3 separate regions of the Homo sapiens genome follow, and regions 1 and 3 are each linked to region 2. The links are contacts of gene promoters, found by promoter capture Hi-C in blood cells and fetal thymus (Javierre and others, 2016). All regions are on one chromosome and are shown on one strand. Each heading gives the region's core, a stretch centred on a gene start or on the middle of the fragment in contact. The rest is flanking DNA. Distances are from core to core; before and after follow the strand shown.

Region 1 (4,301 bases), core at 1,454-3,953, 740 kb after region 2:
TTTAGTTTTTGGTGATTCATTAAATTCTTTACTATTATAGTTATTTTCTAGCTGTTCATCTTTTAGCTAAATTTGTTCCAAAGAAGCAAAAGTTTGGTTTCTACTAAGTTCTGGATTCTGGATGGGAGATTGCACTGTGTGTGACATGCAAGTTTCATGGTGTGGGAGATTGCAGAGCATTTGGGTTACTGCTTTTACTCTTTGGAAGCTGTTATCATCTGTATCTGCTTTAAATAAAGTTAAAGATTTGGAACAAATTGTGTTCTTTCCCTTGCTTCTTTTTTTTTCCTTTAGGTTGAGATTCTGGGTGTTTCCTACAACACACACAGCATACAGTTGTATAACATGTGCATGGAGATCTTTGGTTGATTTTGTGTGTAGCTGCTTCCTAAATATGATCACAGTACAACTTAACTACTCTTGACTTCACTGCTGTTACTTTTGGCTGTAAAAATCACATTTCTCAGTATTTTTTCCTTATAACATATAGGTTATAAAGATAAAAGTAGGCTGCAGATATCATCTCTTCTCTCCTGGAGAGAGTATATACAATACCCTATCAAACTATATTTGCCCTCTCCTTGCTTCTTGAGGTTCTGTTTCACCTCTCCAACATTGGTGCTGAAGTACCCAGACAGGTCATTGAGCACTATTAGATCAGGGGCACCCTTCTCTCCAAAGAAAAAATAAAATAAAAGAATAATACATATTTGATGCTTCCCTGAAAATAGCATCAAAGTAATCATTAGGAGAAAAATAAGATCTTTATTGGACTTCCTTACACTTACCGTAATAGTTTAGTGTTTACAAAAATTATCCAGGCATGGTGGTACACATCTGTAATCCCAGCTATTCCGGAGGCTGAGGCATGAGAATTGCTTGAACCCAGGAGGCAGAGGTTGCAGTAGGCTGGGATCAGGCCACTGCACTCCAGCCTGGGCAACAGAGCGAGACTCTGTCTCAAAAAAAAAAAAAAATGTTTAGTACTGTTTTTGGTTTGATTTCCATACAGAAGTTAGGTGCTATTTCCTTTTTTATCGATTGGGTCATTTTTATTGATCAGATCTAAAACATAGAGCTTGATGCAAAGATTAAGATATTAATAATTTTGGAGGTCCAAGCCCAAGGACAAACAAAAAGAGAAGTGAGGCAAAGTAAGATGTAATGTAACGCGGTGCTAGGGGTTATCACCCTGGTTACTGCTTCACAATGAACCTGATGTTGCTGGTCTGGGAATTACATTTAGAGATCCACTGGCCTAGAAAATAGAGTTTAAACTCAGCAGCATGGCCGTTAGCGATTGCTCATGCCACTTTGCATACTTTGTGCTCCTTCCTCACCACCAAGTCCCTAGGGTTCAGTCACACCAGACTACAAGATTTTCCAAAGCACAGTCTATGCTTTCATTCATGTGATCTTTGTTCTGTGTAATCCACCCCCATCGCTGCTCTCTGCATGACAGATGATGAAAAAGGGAACTCTGAAGAGAGAGAGGGAGAGAGAGACACACCTCATTCTCATTCTTCACCTGATTTTCCTCTTAGAAAGTCCCCTACTCATCATGCAAGGTCTTACTGAAATGCCACTACTATAGAAACTTTTCTCCAATCTTGTCTCTAAATTACAACGAACCACTGATTTCTGTTATCCTAATACTTTATATGTATCTCAATGCAAATACGATACCAAAACCTTTTACCCTGCTCTCTGCCTTGGAGGTGGTACTGAGGGCTGACCTCTAAGTACCACATCAGCTCCATTCTCTGATTACTCATTGGGTTCTGCAGTGGGAGGTACCAGCACGAGATTGGAAGGCACACGGAGAGAGTACTTGGGATGCTTATACTCCCCTGGCTGTCTTCCGAAAGCAGTCATGGGTTCTACCTGCTGGCACTTGGTATAGCTCTTACCAAGTTCAGGAGATGCCCCCTCCCTTGCCCCTTCAGCCTAGATGGTAAGGGGAGGAGGCTACTTCACCATCTCTCAATGGTTTCCTTAACCCTTTGCCCACACCTGTGTAAATAATTTCTTTATTAAATTATCTTCAATTATTAATTTTGAGTATACCATCTGTATACTGCCAGGACTTTTCGTGATACACCAGGTAACAGTATTAATCTATGTTTTATTTCTCCACCTCCTACTTCACCCCTCACTCCAAAGAGAGGGGATCTGTGTCTAATTCATCTTTATAATCTTAACACAGTGCCAGGCATATCAAAGGCCTTCAATACGCGTTGATTGAATTAAATAATGCCCTGTTGGGCCAGAGGGGAACCTGACTCCAGCCCTGGCTTAGGGAGCACAGGAGAGAACCCAGTGTATTTTTCTAAATATGGGTGTGTAGGGAGAATTGGGGGGAAAGGAGTGGGATGCCCAACAGAAAAGGAAAGGAATACTGATTCCTGTGTTTTAATGTGCCAGGCATTCTACAGACTTTATCTCATTTAATCTTCATTATAATAACATGAAATAGTTATGGCTGTGCCCACTGTACAGATGCTATTGACTGAGGCTACATAACTAATAAAATTGCAGACCTCAGGATTTTGACCCAGGATTTGTCTGGCAGTAACGTCTGTCCCAAAGGGCGACACAATCCTGAGGCAGCTGTTCGCAAACTCGAGGCCTCAATCTTTGACGGAAGCGGTTTTCAGAGAAAAGAAGTTCGAGGCACAAGCCTGTTGGGTGGGGCGCAACTGCAGTCCCAGCGAGCTGAGGATGGCTGCGCCAGGCCCCCTTCCTGCCGCTGCTCTGAGTCCAGGGGCTCCGACCCCCAGAGAACTTATGCACGGAGTTGCAGGTGTTACTTCCAGAGCCGGACGAGATCGGGAGGCGGGGAGCGTGCTGCCGGCCGGGAACCGTGGGGCGCGGAAGGCCTCCCGGCGCTCTTCCTCCCGGAGTATGGTGAGGAGCGCGGGGGACGGGTGCGGGAAGGGGACAGCAGGGCTGAGCCTGGGGCCCGCAAGACCCAGCAGCCCGAGCGGGCGCAGAGACCCCACGCCACGCACAACCCTCTCTTCTAGGGGGCGCCGACTACACTGACTTCCCTGTTCCGGAAGAGGGGGATGCGTGCTGCTTCTTTTTCCTTAGCATTTCTGGTGGTTTTTTTTTTTTTTCCCTTAAAATTTAAAAGTTCTTTATAAAGTTTGAAAGGATATGAGTCCTTTATTCGTGATATGTGTTATGAATATGTCCTCCCAATTTATTTTTTGTTTTTTGAGTTTGCTTATGGGGGGCTTTTGTTTCTCTTTGCCATGCAAATATTTTAAATTTTGTGTGGCAAGACTTACCAGTCTTTTATTTTATGACGTCTAGACTTTTAGTCATATTTTAATATATGACTTTTAGTCATACTCTTCCCTACACCCAAGTTATAGAAGAGTTCACTCATGCTTGCTTCTAGTACTTGAACTGATGTATTTTTTACATTTAGATCTATAATACATTTGGAGTGTGTTATTGTGTGTGGTTTGAGGAGTGAATCTAATTATTTTTTTTCAAATGGGTATCAAGTGTCCCAACACCATTTATTATAAAGGTCGTCACTGTCCCAGTAACTTGAGATACCAGCTTTATCATGTACTAGACTTTCATATGTGGTTCGGGTATTTCTGGACCTTCTATTTTCATCCATTGACCCGTTTATTCATCTGCTTTAGAGAGGCTTTGCTGTATGTTTTAATGTCAGGGCTAGTCTTCCTAGAGAGTGCTTCCTTGTCACTATTTTCCTAGCTATTCTTGTTGTTTATTTTTCCTTATGAACTTTTCTGATGTATGATCAGTTTAAAAAAAAAAAAGAAAAGCTCTTTGGAATTTTTATTGGGATTGCATTAAATTAATAAATTACAGAGAGCTGATATCTTTAGGTGGTGTTGACATGGTCTAACCTACTGTGCTGTGAAAGATTGAAAATTTGAGTATGTAATGTATATGATATTAAATTGTGAATTGGTGGGACATATGTAACAGCTTTTCAACAATTGTAGATACTGGTACTTCATATCCTCTTAAGGAAAATTTGCCTCCAAATTTTAAGCTGGAAAGTCACTAGAATAACTTTTAAAAACAATTACAATACATGACTTTTTAAACTTTTTTGTGTGTGTATGTTAAGAATAGTGTACAAATTGAAATATCTGTGTACTGATCCTCGACACAACCAATGAAATCTCCATTATGAAGGAATGTTTTGAAGCACATAGAAAAGGAAGCGAAACAAAGGATGCCTTTTCATTGTTTAAGTCTATTTTTGTGTCTTTAAAGAAGGTTTATAGTTATCTTCACATAAAACATTTCAA
Region 2 (4,088 bases), core at 204-2,703:
AAGAAAAGTATGTTTATGTACATGTGTACACACACACAGATACAAAAAAATATACTTAAGAATATCAGATATATGTTAAATGCTAAATAGATGACACAGATAAGAATACAGGCCATAAAGTCAGAGGACTGGGCTTCTCTGAACCATTTTTCTTGCTGTAAACAAAATAGCAATTCCTACCTCCTAGAATGATTCTATTTAGAAGAGAAGGCAGCCACCAAGATGGTCTTAAAATGTAGTATAAGTGTAGAGCTGGGCCTTAAATAACCATTTGGAGACCTCTTATCATGCTCCAGGAATTGTTCTAATTGCTTTCATGTATTAACTCATTTAATCATTCCAACAACTCTAAGGAACAGATACTATTATTTTTTTCCCAATTTGAACAATGAGCATACTTAAACTCTGGAGAATGTAATTAGCTGGCACAAAGTCACACTGTTAAGTATAAAGCAGGGGTTCAAACTAGAGCCACCATCTGCCTTAAAGCATTTAACTACGATATGAAACAGCTTCGGCACACCTTCAAAGGGTAGGATTTACACAGACAGGTTGAAGGAGACATAACCACCTACCCCAAAATCAATTGACAAATGTGCCTAAGGCAGAAGGTGAGGGAGTGCAGTTGGATTGCGTAATTACCCTGAAAAACCACCTGTTATGGAAACCATCTGTAAACTTTCTCGAGTGTTTCTCCTATAATTCAACACTTCTCCCATCTTTACATTAAATTCATGAAATTTGACACAAAAAGACAATTATTTATCTATTTTAAGGCTACTACCCTGTTGCCAGGCCACCGGGTCCGGCCCAGCCTTGATTCTTCGGGAATCACTTCTCCCTCGCCGCGCCTGTTACTGCCTCCACGGATCACTGTGAGGAAAATAAATGAAAAGGAAATTCAGTGCGATCCTGTTGCGGCTGATCCTAAATGTCTGCAGTTGCTATCTCCGAATCCTCTTTCTCCTCCCCACTACACATCCCCTTCTCCAGTCCTAGGACCACAAGAAACTTCCTCTGGTACAAAAAGGTCAGAAAACGATTACTGAGGTAACAGCGTCGCTTCAAGTCTAAGGACCGAGATTCTGGGGCCTCTGGGCTCCTTTACTCCAGATTCTAGACCCGGCTTTCGCGCTACCAGGCCTTGGATAAGACACTAGGCCCTGTGCCTGGACACTGCACCTCCCCAGGCCTCAGTTTCCACACCAGATCTCTACAGAGTGGGCGTGAGGGCAGGCCGATTCTCCCGTTAAGAGCTCTTACAAGCCGGCTGACTTCGTCCAGGAGCCTGGGGTCCTGGCCTCCTGGTAGGCGCCCTGGGGCCCTCTCCCTCCCCAGCCACCACCTCAGATAAGTTACCTCATCCTCGCTTCGCGTTCTTCCACTAAAGAACCTGGGGCTCCCACGCCGCACTACAGCGCCGCGGCCTTCCGGGGCAGCGTGCGTCGCGACGCGGGAAGGGGCCTGGAGGCGGGACTAGGAGCCTCGGAGTCAAGGGGCGGAGCGCCCTTTGCTAATAAGCCAATCAGAACGTGAGACGCTCCGGTGGGGCGGTGCGCGTCGAGCGCGGGGTGGAGTCTGGGTGACTTGGCTGGCGGGATCAAGTGCAGCTGCTTCAGGCTGAGGTGGCAGATAGTGAGCGCTGGTGGCGGAGTTAAAGTCAAAGCAGGAGAGTAATTATGAATAGCGCAGCGGGATTCTCACACCTAGACCGTCGCGAGCGGGTTCTCAAGTTAGGGGAGAGTTTCGAGAAGCAGCCGCGCTGCGCCTTCCACACTGTGCGCTGTGAGTGAGGACCATCCGGGGATAGAGGGGGAGCCTCCCGGGATGGGGGTGAAGAGGCACAAACCCCTCTGGGTTTTGTTCCCACAGTACCCCTTACACTGTTGGAGACTACGGGGCGGGGAGGGGGGAGGCAGCGCGATCCTCTAACCTGCTCGGAGTCTTAGGGGGTCGGTGGAAGGAATCGGAGTAGAGCAAATGTGGGTAAACCCTGGACAGAGAGCGTTGAGACCAGCAGACAGGAAGGGAAAGTGTGAAAAAAGTCTGTAGAGGTGACTGTGGAGACAGACGTGACAGGTGGATGATGCAGGGGTGGACAGGAAAATAATAAGGTGACAAATGGGAAGGGACTAAGGACCGAATGCCGGGGAACTTGAATGCCTTGAGGCTGGTGGGGCAATATTCTCTCTTTTCATCACTTTTTCTCACCTCTGGCAGATGAGGGTTCTTATTTGGTGTGTTCTTTGCAAAGGGAGAAATTCTCAACCATCCCAATGATCTGTATATCTCTTTGGACCCCAGATTTCACTCAGTTATCAAATACTGATTATCAAAGTATTCGAGGGTGTGTTATTAATTTCTTTATTTGGAAGATGCTTACCTCCCTATGATTTCTACCCTTTGGTTTTCTTTATGTCCTCTGGAACTAGTTTTAATAAATTATTCTCTTTTATGTTGTTGGAGTAGAAAAAGGAGCTCTTTTGCTTTAGCAGTTGGATGATATAGATTCCAGGAAGGAAAATATAGCATATAAGTTTTTATGTGTAAGACATTCGTTTTTTGCATAACAACTGTCATAGAATTGTAGAGCGGGAAGGAAACTTCAAGATCACTGAATTATAACTTCTCATTTTTCTGTGGTAAAACTGTAAGTATTTTTTCACTTCCTTTCCCCAGCCTTGCCCTTCCTTAATATCTCATCATTCCGCCTTTCTCAGTCATTCTGTTCTCGGGTTGTTTAGAGACCTTTATGGTTTTTACTCTGAAATGTTCCATGGTTCAATCAAAACAACTAATTAAAGCATACATTCTCCCAAAAGTTTATTTAAGTTGTAGACAATTTAGTTATAGTTACTCAAAGTAAAGGTATGAAGAACCACTGGTTTTAACCCTGCAAGAATATATTTACTAAAAGGGTTTTTTTAAAGCAAAATTAACATCCAATTGGTAGAATAAATGGGTGAGATATTTGTGAACAGAAACTCTTCAACAGTGTCCCTTGTTTATTCTTCTTTATCATATACTTTCTCATCCAGAGCTCCCCACGATGAGATGGTGCTGTGCTGGCTCTGCAGTTTCTCTCTCTTCAGTCCCATTTTCCGGAAGTGTGATATGCGTCTTTATCTGGTTTTTCCATGCCTTTTTCTCAAATAGTATCTACTCTCTCCTTTTCTCTTCCTTCTCAGGTATGCAATAGTCTTAATATTAATTTTTCAAGTTACAAGGGCTTAAGATTATAAAAATTTGCTTAAGAATATATTTCTATATGATTTGGGTATATATTCTCTTATGTAGGGCACAAATCCCAATTTAAATGAATAAAAAATTGCCTTTGAAAATAATCTTGCAGGTCCTTCACAGCCTTTCATTTATAAAGGTTCTGAAAATGCCAGTATCTTGAAAGTCAGAGGATCAGATGATCCAGCTACCAGAATGAAAATAAACAAAAATAAGCAAAACAACAATAATGACAATAATAAATAAACAAACATACATGTTTGAATACACACTTAGTCCTGTGGAAGACAGAACTATTAGAAAAGTTTTCAGTCCTTATTTTCTTTTATTGTTGTTGTTGAAGCAGGTGTGGTAATGGCACAGAATCATTTTAGATTTATTTAAATAAAACTGTTTATTATTCTTGAGGACAGGTTCATTTCCAATGTAATCCTCACTCTTAAGAACTCAGAGTGAGGTTTGAAAATTGTAGAATAGTATGAAGCTGATGTTCATGCAGATAAGGGGGACCTAATTTATAACCAACCCTCAAGCCAATGTCATTGGAGAGAAAGTAATATTCTGCCTTTATTTACAGGAGCAATTCTGCCTGTCTGATATAAGACTTCAGGCAAACCCGGATGTGAATCCTGGTCTCCACCACCTATATATATAATGTGACTTTGGGAACATTCTCTAAGCTCTCAACCTCAGTTTTCTTATGGCTAAAAGATAATAGTAATATTTACATTTCATGGTTTGTGTAAGGATTAAATAAGATAGCATAAACAACCTGGAACAATATTTGCCACAGGGTAGAGAATAAATAGTAGTCACCATTAATGTTGAAGAGTTATATTCATATGTGT
Region 3 (4,336 bases), core at 1,583-4,082, 860 kb after region 2:
GGTGCTGTGCTCTGGAGCCAAAACAGGAAGTTGTGACTTCTCTGTGAACATAGGCTTTTGAGCATTGGTGCAGGATTGGATTGGAGGATTGCAGTCCTCCCAAAGACAGCAGCTCTTCTGATCTCATCTGCTCTAGGAAACAGCCAGCGACCAATTAGCTGTTGTGGACTCCAATGCTCAACTAGCGTCTGGGCATTGAGCTGCCATGCCACTTGACATTCACTAAAGAAGCAACTAGTTTTCATAGCTAAGCATGCTATTATAAAGGGTAGGAAGTGAACTACACTGAATGAACCGAGCTAGAGAGATAAAGTGGTACATATACCTAAACCTTAAGGAAAATGAACAATGTATAATCATTGTCCTGTAATATTGAAATTATCTTGAGAACATGTAGTTTTCTGCAACTTTCTCTTTTGGAAAATGGCACTAGAGTGAGAGCTGCCTATATTTGGCAAAAAGATTGGATAGAGATATATGGCTTATTTTTGTCTAATATCGATGTCCTGTTAAAACTGTAGAATTTAGTATGCATGGCTTTCTTAGGCAGCTCAGGAGTTTTATGAAATAGGATTTTTTTTTTTGTCTCTTTAGAGTAATTCCTGCTTTCCATTCCTCACTTGTCGAACTGGCTCCCCCAGCTCCCAGTGTTTGTCGTTGGGATCTCCTAAATCCTTATCTTCTTCTTGGAAGATGCCAAAGCGCTATACCGTCAAGCTCAACTTCAGACTAGGAAGTGGTTTTATATGTGCATATTTATTCTTGCTCTATAGCCCTAGATCTAAAATTTAATCACATCTGTGTTTCTTATGACTTCATAGATTTTTACCTTAACTCTGTCTTAACTGACATGTTAGTACTGTTTTAAATTTGCTTAAAACTCCCAAATGTATTCCCAGCGAAAGCCCCAGTCCCCTTCCACCAATAGACTTTTCATTGTCCTGGGAATTTTAGGCCCATTTTCTAACCTGTTTTTACCCGACCTGGACTCTAAGGATAGTAGCCAGCTAGGAATTTGGGTTGTCTACACCAGATACTTAAGTTGGCTCCTTTAAAGGAAGCAGAGGTTCTTTGCTGAATGGTTACCCCACACTGATCCCTGACTATGGCCCTAAGGCTGGGACTCTTGAAATTAATTGGAATGGGGTAGACAGTTTCAGAACTGAGCAAAGTGTGGGTGGAGAATAGGTACTGACTGGATTCTGTTTCTCAGGGATGGGGAACGTACTCTCCGGACAATGAACCACAACCAACGCCACCAACCAATACTCATAATTAATAATTACAACAGCCCTGGTGCAGAAGACATTGCACCATGAATGCACTAAGCATGCCCGAAACCTCATGCAAAAAGTTTAAAACTGAGGCGTCTGCAGGAGCTGACAGGGCAGGGAAAGGCACACACACCAAGATCAGGTGAAGTCAGCACTGAGCTAATGTCCTGTTCCAGGATAAGCTTAGTTGGGCTGGGTCTGAAAGGTGGAAACCAGCACTTGGAAGGTCCTGGAGAAGAGACAAGGGCAAGAGCAGAGAAATACTGCTTACCTGTGGTCGGAAATTCTGGTGTTTTCAAATCCATATCCCCAGCCTGGACTCCTCTCTCAATTCCAGAACTTCTGTCTGACCTTCCTGTTGGGAAGTATATTAGAGCCAACATGCCTGAAGCCACATGTGTCATCTTCCTCCCCAAGCAAGGGCCCTTTCTGGCTTCCTCATTTCTCTTGAAGTACACAATCAGTCTGCTCGTCACCTACTAGACATTTCACGCATCACTCCTTTCACATCTGCTGATCATAGAGACCTATTTATTTTATTTTATTGTTTTTGGAGAGAGGGTTTCATTCTGTTGCTCAGGCTGTCTTGGCTCACTGCAGCCTCGACCTCCCTGGCTCAAGCAATCCTCCCACAGCAGCCTCCTAAGTAGCTGGGGCTATTATAACATGCATTACCATGCCCAGCCAATTTTTAACATTTTTTGTGGAGTCGTGGTCTCACTATGTTACCCAGGCTGGTCTTGAACTCCTGGCCCCAAATGACCCTCCCGCCTTGGCCTCCCAGAGTGCTGAGATTACAGGCATGAGCCACTGCACCCAGCCTCATTTTCTTTTAAAGTTTTCCTTATCCATCCTTCTCTCACCACGGGCCCTTCCTTTTTACCTCACAAGTTCAACATGGCAGGAGCTCCCTGCCTGCTCTGTCTGTGTCTGCCACCCTTCTCCTTAAACCTGACCAGCCCTTTGCACTATTGCTAAATAGCCTGCCATCCTTTTCATGGAAACCTTCCATGACTCACCCTTACCACAAGCTGGGAGATAAAGTCCAGACCACCTTCTGGATCTAGTCTGCTTTTCTGGCCTCATTTTCTTCATTCTGCACAATTGTGCGCCTTTTGAGCCACATCAGTCAAATCACTGTTTTCTAAATTGTCTGATGCAGTTGCAGCACTCTGCCTGTGCTTCTGTTGCTCACCATTCCCTCTAGCCCACTTTTCTCTACCCAATTCCACATACCCTTCAAGACCTGCTGAACTTCCTCCTCTTCTCTCAAGTCTTTCCATGCCAGCCCAGCCCTTTTATCTCTTTCTGGGACTCTTGGCCTGATTGTTAATGCTCTTTTTTGGTCAATTAAGCCTTTCTTGTGGTGAAGCGTCTAATATTGATGGGATTATAAAACTATATTGCTGGAAAGATTCTTTCAGTCCAGTTCACTTAGTCCTATACCCTCATTTTATGATTAAGAGACATGCCCAAGGTCACATGGCTAAAGAGTGGCAGCAGGGATTAAACACATATAGCCTCCTCCCTAGCCCAGCAGTCATTGTGATTTGTCATACCTGTCTCACTTAGTGCTAATTTATGTAGTTGCTTTATGCTTAAGCTATTTTTTTTTTAATTTAGCATGAGTGTGTGTGCATGGCATGATAGCCAGCACACAACAGAGTGGTCTAACTGTTGTAACAAACAACCTCCCAAATCAGTAACCTAACACAACACAAGTTTGTTTGTTTATTTATTCATTTATTTTTCTGAGACGGAATCGCCCAGACTGGAGTGCAGTGGTACAATCTCGGCTCACTGCAACCTCCGCCTCCCAGCTTCAAGCGATTCTCCAGCCTCAGCCTCCTGAGTAGCTGGGATTAGAGGCGTGTGTTACCACACTCGGCTAATTTTTGTATTTTTGGTAGAGACAGGGTTTCATCACATTGGCCAGGCTAGTCTGGAACTCCTGATGTCAAGTGATCCGCCTGCCTCGTTCTCCCAAAGTGCTGGGATTACAGGCATGAGCCACTGCGCCTGGCCACAACACAAGTTTATTTCTCCTTCGCATCACAGTTCAGTGTAGTTGGCAGCTGTGATGGTGGTGGGAGTGTCAGTCACTTCATGTGGTCATTCAGGGACCCAGGCTCCTTCCACCCTTTGACACCATTATCTTTAAATGTGGTTTCCAAGGTCACTGCAAGGGAGAATGGGGTTTCATATTAAGGATATTTATATTGGCCAGGCCTGAAGGTGGAATTCACTTCCACCCATATTCCATTAACTGCAGGGACACTACTGTTGAAACTGAACTGCAGAAAACTTGAGAAATATTGTCCAGGAAGTAAGCAAAATGGATTTGGTGCACACAGAGCATTTTATGTGGCCACTGCGAACATTTACACATGTCATTTTCCTCATATACCTCCATTAGAAAATCTGTAAATTTCTTAACTAATGTTTTTTTATATTCTTACTTCTCCTTACATCCAGGGTCTTGAACACGATAAGAGTCCCCATTGAAAAACTGTCCACAGAATGCCTAAAGATCAGATCGTACCCACCATGCTTCAGTGGACAAGCATACAGTGAGACTGACCTTGTGTGTATGTGTAACTCATTTTTACAGTCAACAGTGGAGAGGAATGAGTCAGCTGGGTGATTGCCATTCAGCGGGCTTCGTATACAGCAGGCCTTGGCCATTTCACTTTCTGTGTGTATTCCTTAATCATTTGCTATAGGGATCCTTTTTTCTTTTCAGTGATGGGAACTTAACTATTTTTTGGAGTATAATGTGTTAGGTGATACCCATGTTTGGGCATCATCAGATAGTCTTGCTTTCCTCCAGTGACCCAAGCAGTAAATCTCCAATTCAGCAAACATTTACTGAGCCTCAATTATATACCATATGCTAGCAATACAAGGATGAATAAACATGTGTCTCGCTTTTGAGAAGCTTTGTTGAATAATTTTAGTCTGGTGCTGTGCTAGAAATAGATATCAAGTGCTAGGAAATATAAGGCAGGTTCCTCAAAAAGGCCAGGCAGAAAAGGGTATAATAAAATTAAACTTCAATTATG

Evidence for each region. Contacts are between HindIII fragments. The CHiCAGO score rates a contact against its expected background, and 5 or more counts as called.
Region 1: a contact is called between the fragment with the promoter of PARP15 here and the fragment with the promoter of IQCB1 in region 2, in 1 of 17 cell types (non-activated CD4 T cells). The highest score is 5.0, in non-activated CD4 T cells.
Region 3: a fragment that was not itself captured here is called in contact with the fragment with the promoter of IQCB1 in region 2 in 1 of 17 cell types (activated CD4 T cells); the score reaches 5.1 in activated CD4 T cells.

The regions. Positions count from the first base shown.
Region 1 is chr3:122,574,947-122,579,247 of GRCh38, forward strand. PARP15 (poly(ADP-ribose) polymerase family member 15) reads left to right here and starts at 2,704. Exons shown (of 12, transcript NM_001113523.3): 1 at 2,704-2,907. The coding sequence starts at 2,722. It overlaps DTX3L (deltex E3 ubiquitin ligase 3L), which reads left to right. Exons shown (of 5, transcript NM_138287.3): 5 at 1-257. RefSeq lists enhancers at 1,087-1,136, 2,671-2,950 and a silencer at 3,011-3,060. The HindIII fragment of the contact is 6,929 bases long and covers 1-4,301 here.
Region 2 is chr3:121,833,607-121,837,694 of GRCh38, forward strand. It overlaps IQCB1 (IQ motif containing B1), which reads right to left and starts at 1,454. Exons shown (of 15, transcript NM_001023570.4): 1 at 1,360-1,454; 2 at 785-873. It overlaps EAF2 (ELL associated factor 2), which reads left to right and starts at 1,603. Exons shown (of 6, transcript NM_018456.6): 1 at 1,603-1,785. The coding sequence starts at 1,680. The HindIII fragment of the contact is 9,498 bases long and covers 1-4,088 here.
Region 3 is chr3:122,687,513-122,691,848 of GRCh38, forward strand. All of the region lies in intron 3 of PARP14 (poly(ADP-ribose) polymerase family member 14), which reads left to right. Among named protein-coding and RNA genes, the nearest start is that of PARP14, 8.8 kb to the left of the region's middle. The HindIII fragment of the contact is 2,756 bases long and covers 1,455-4,210 here.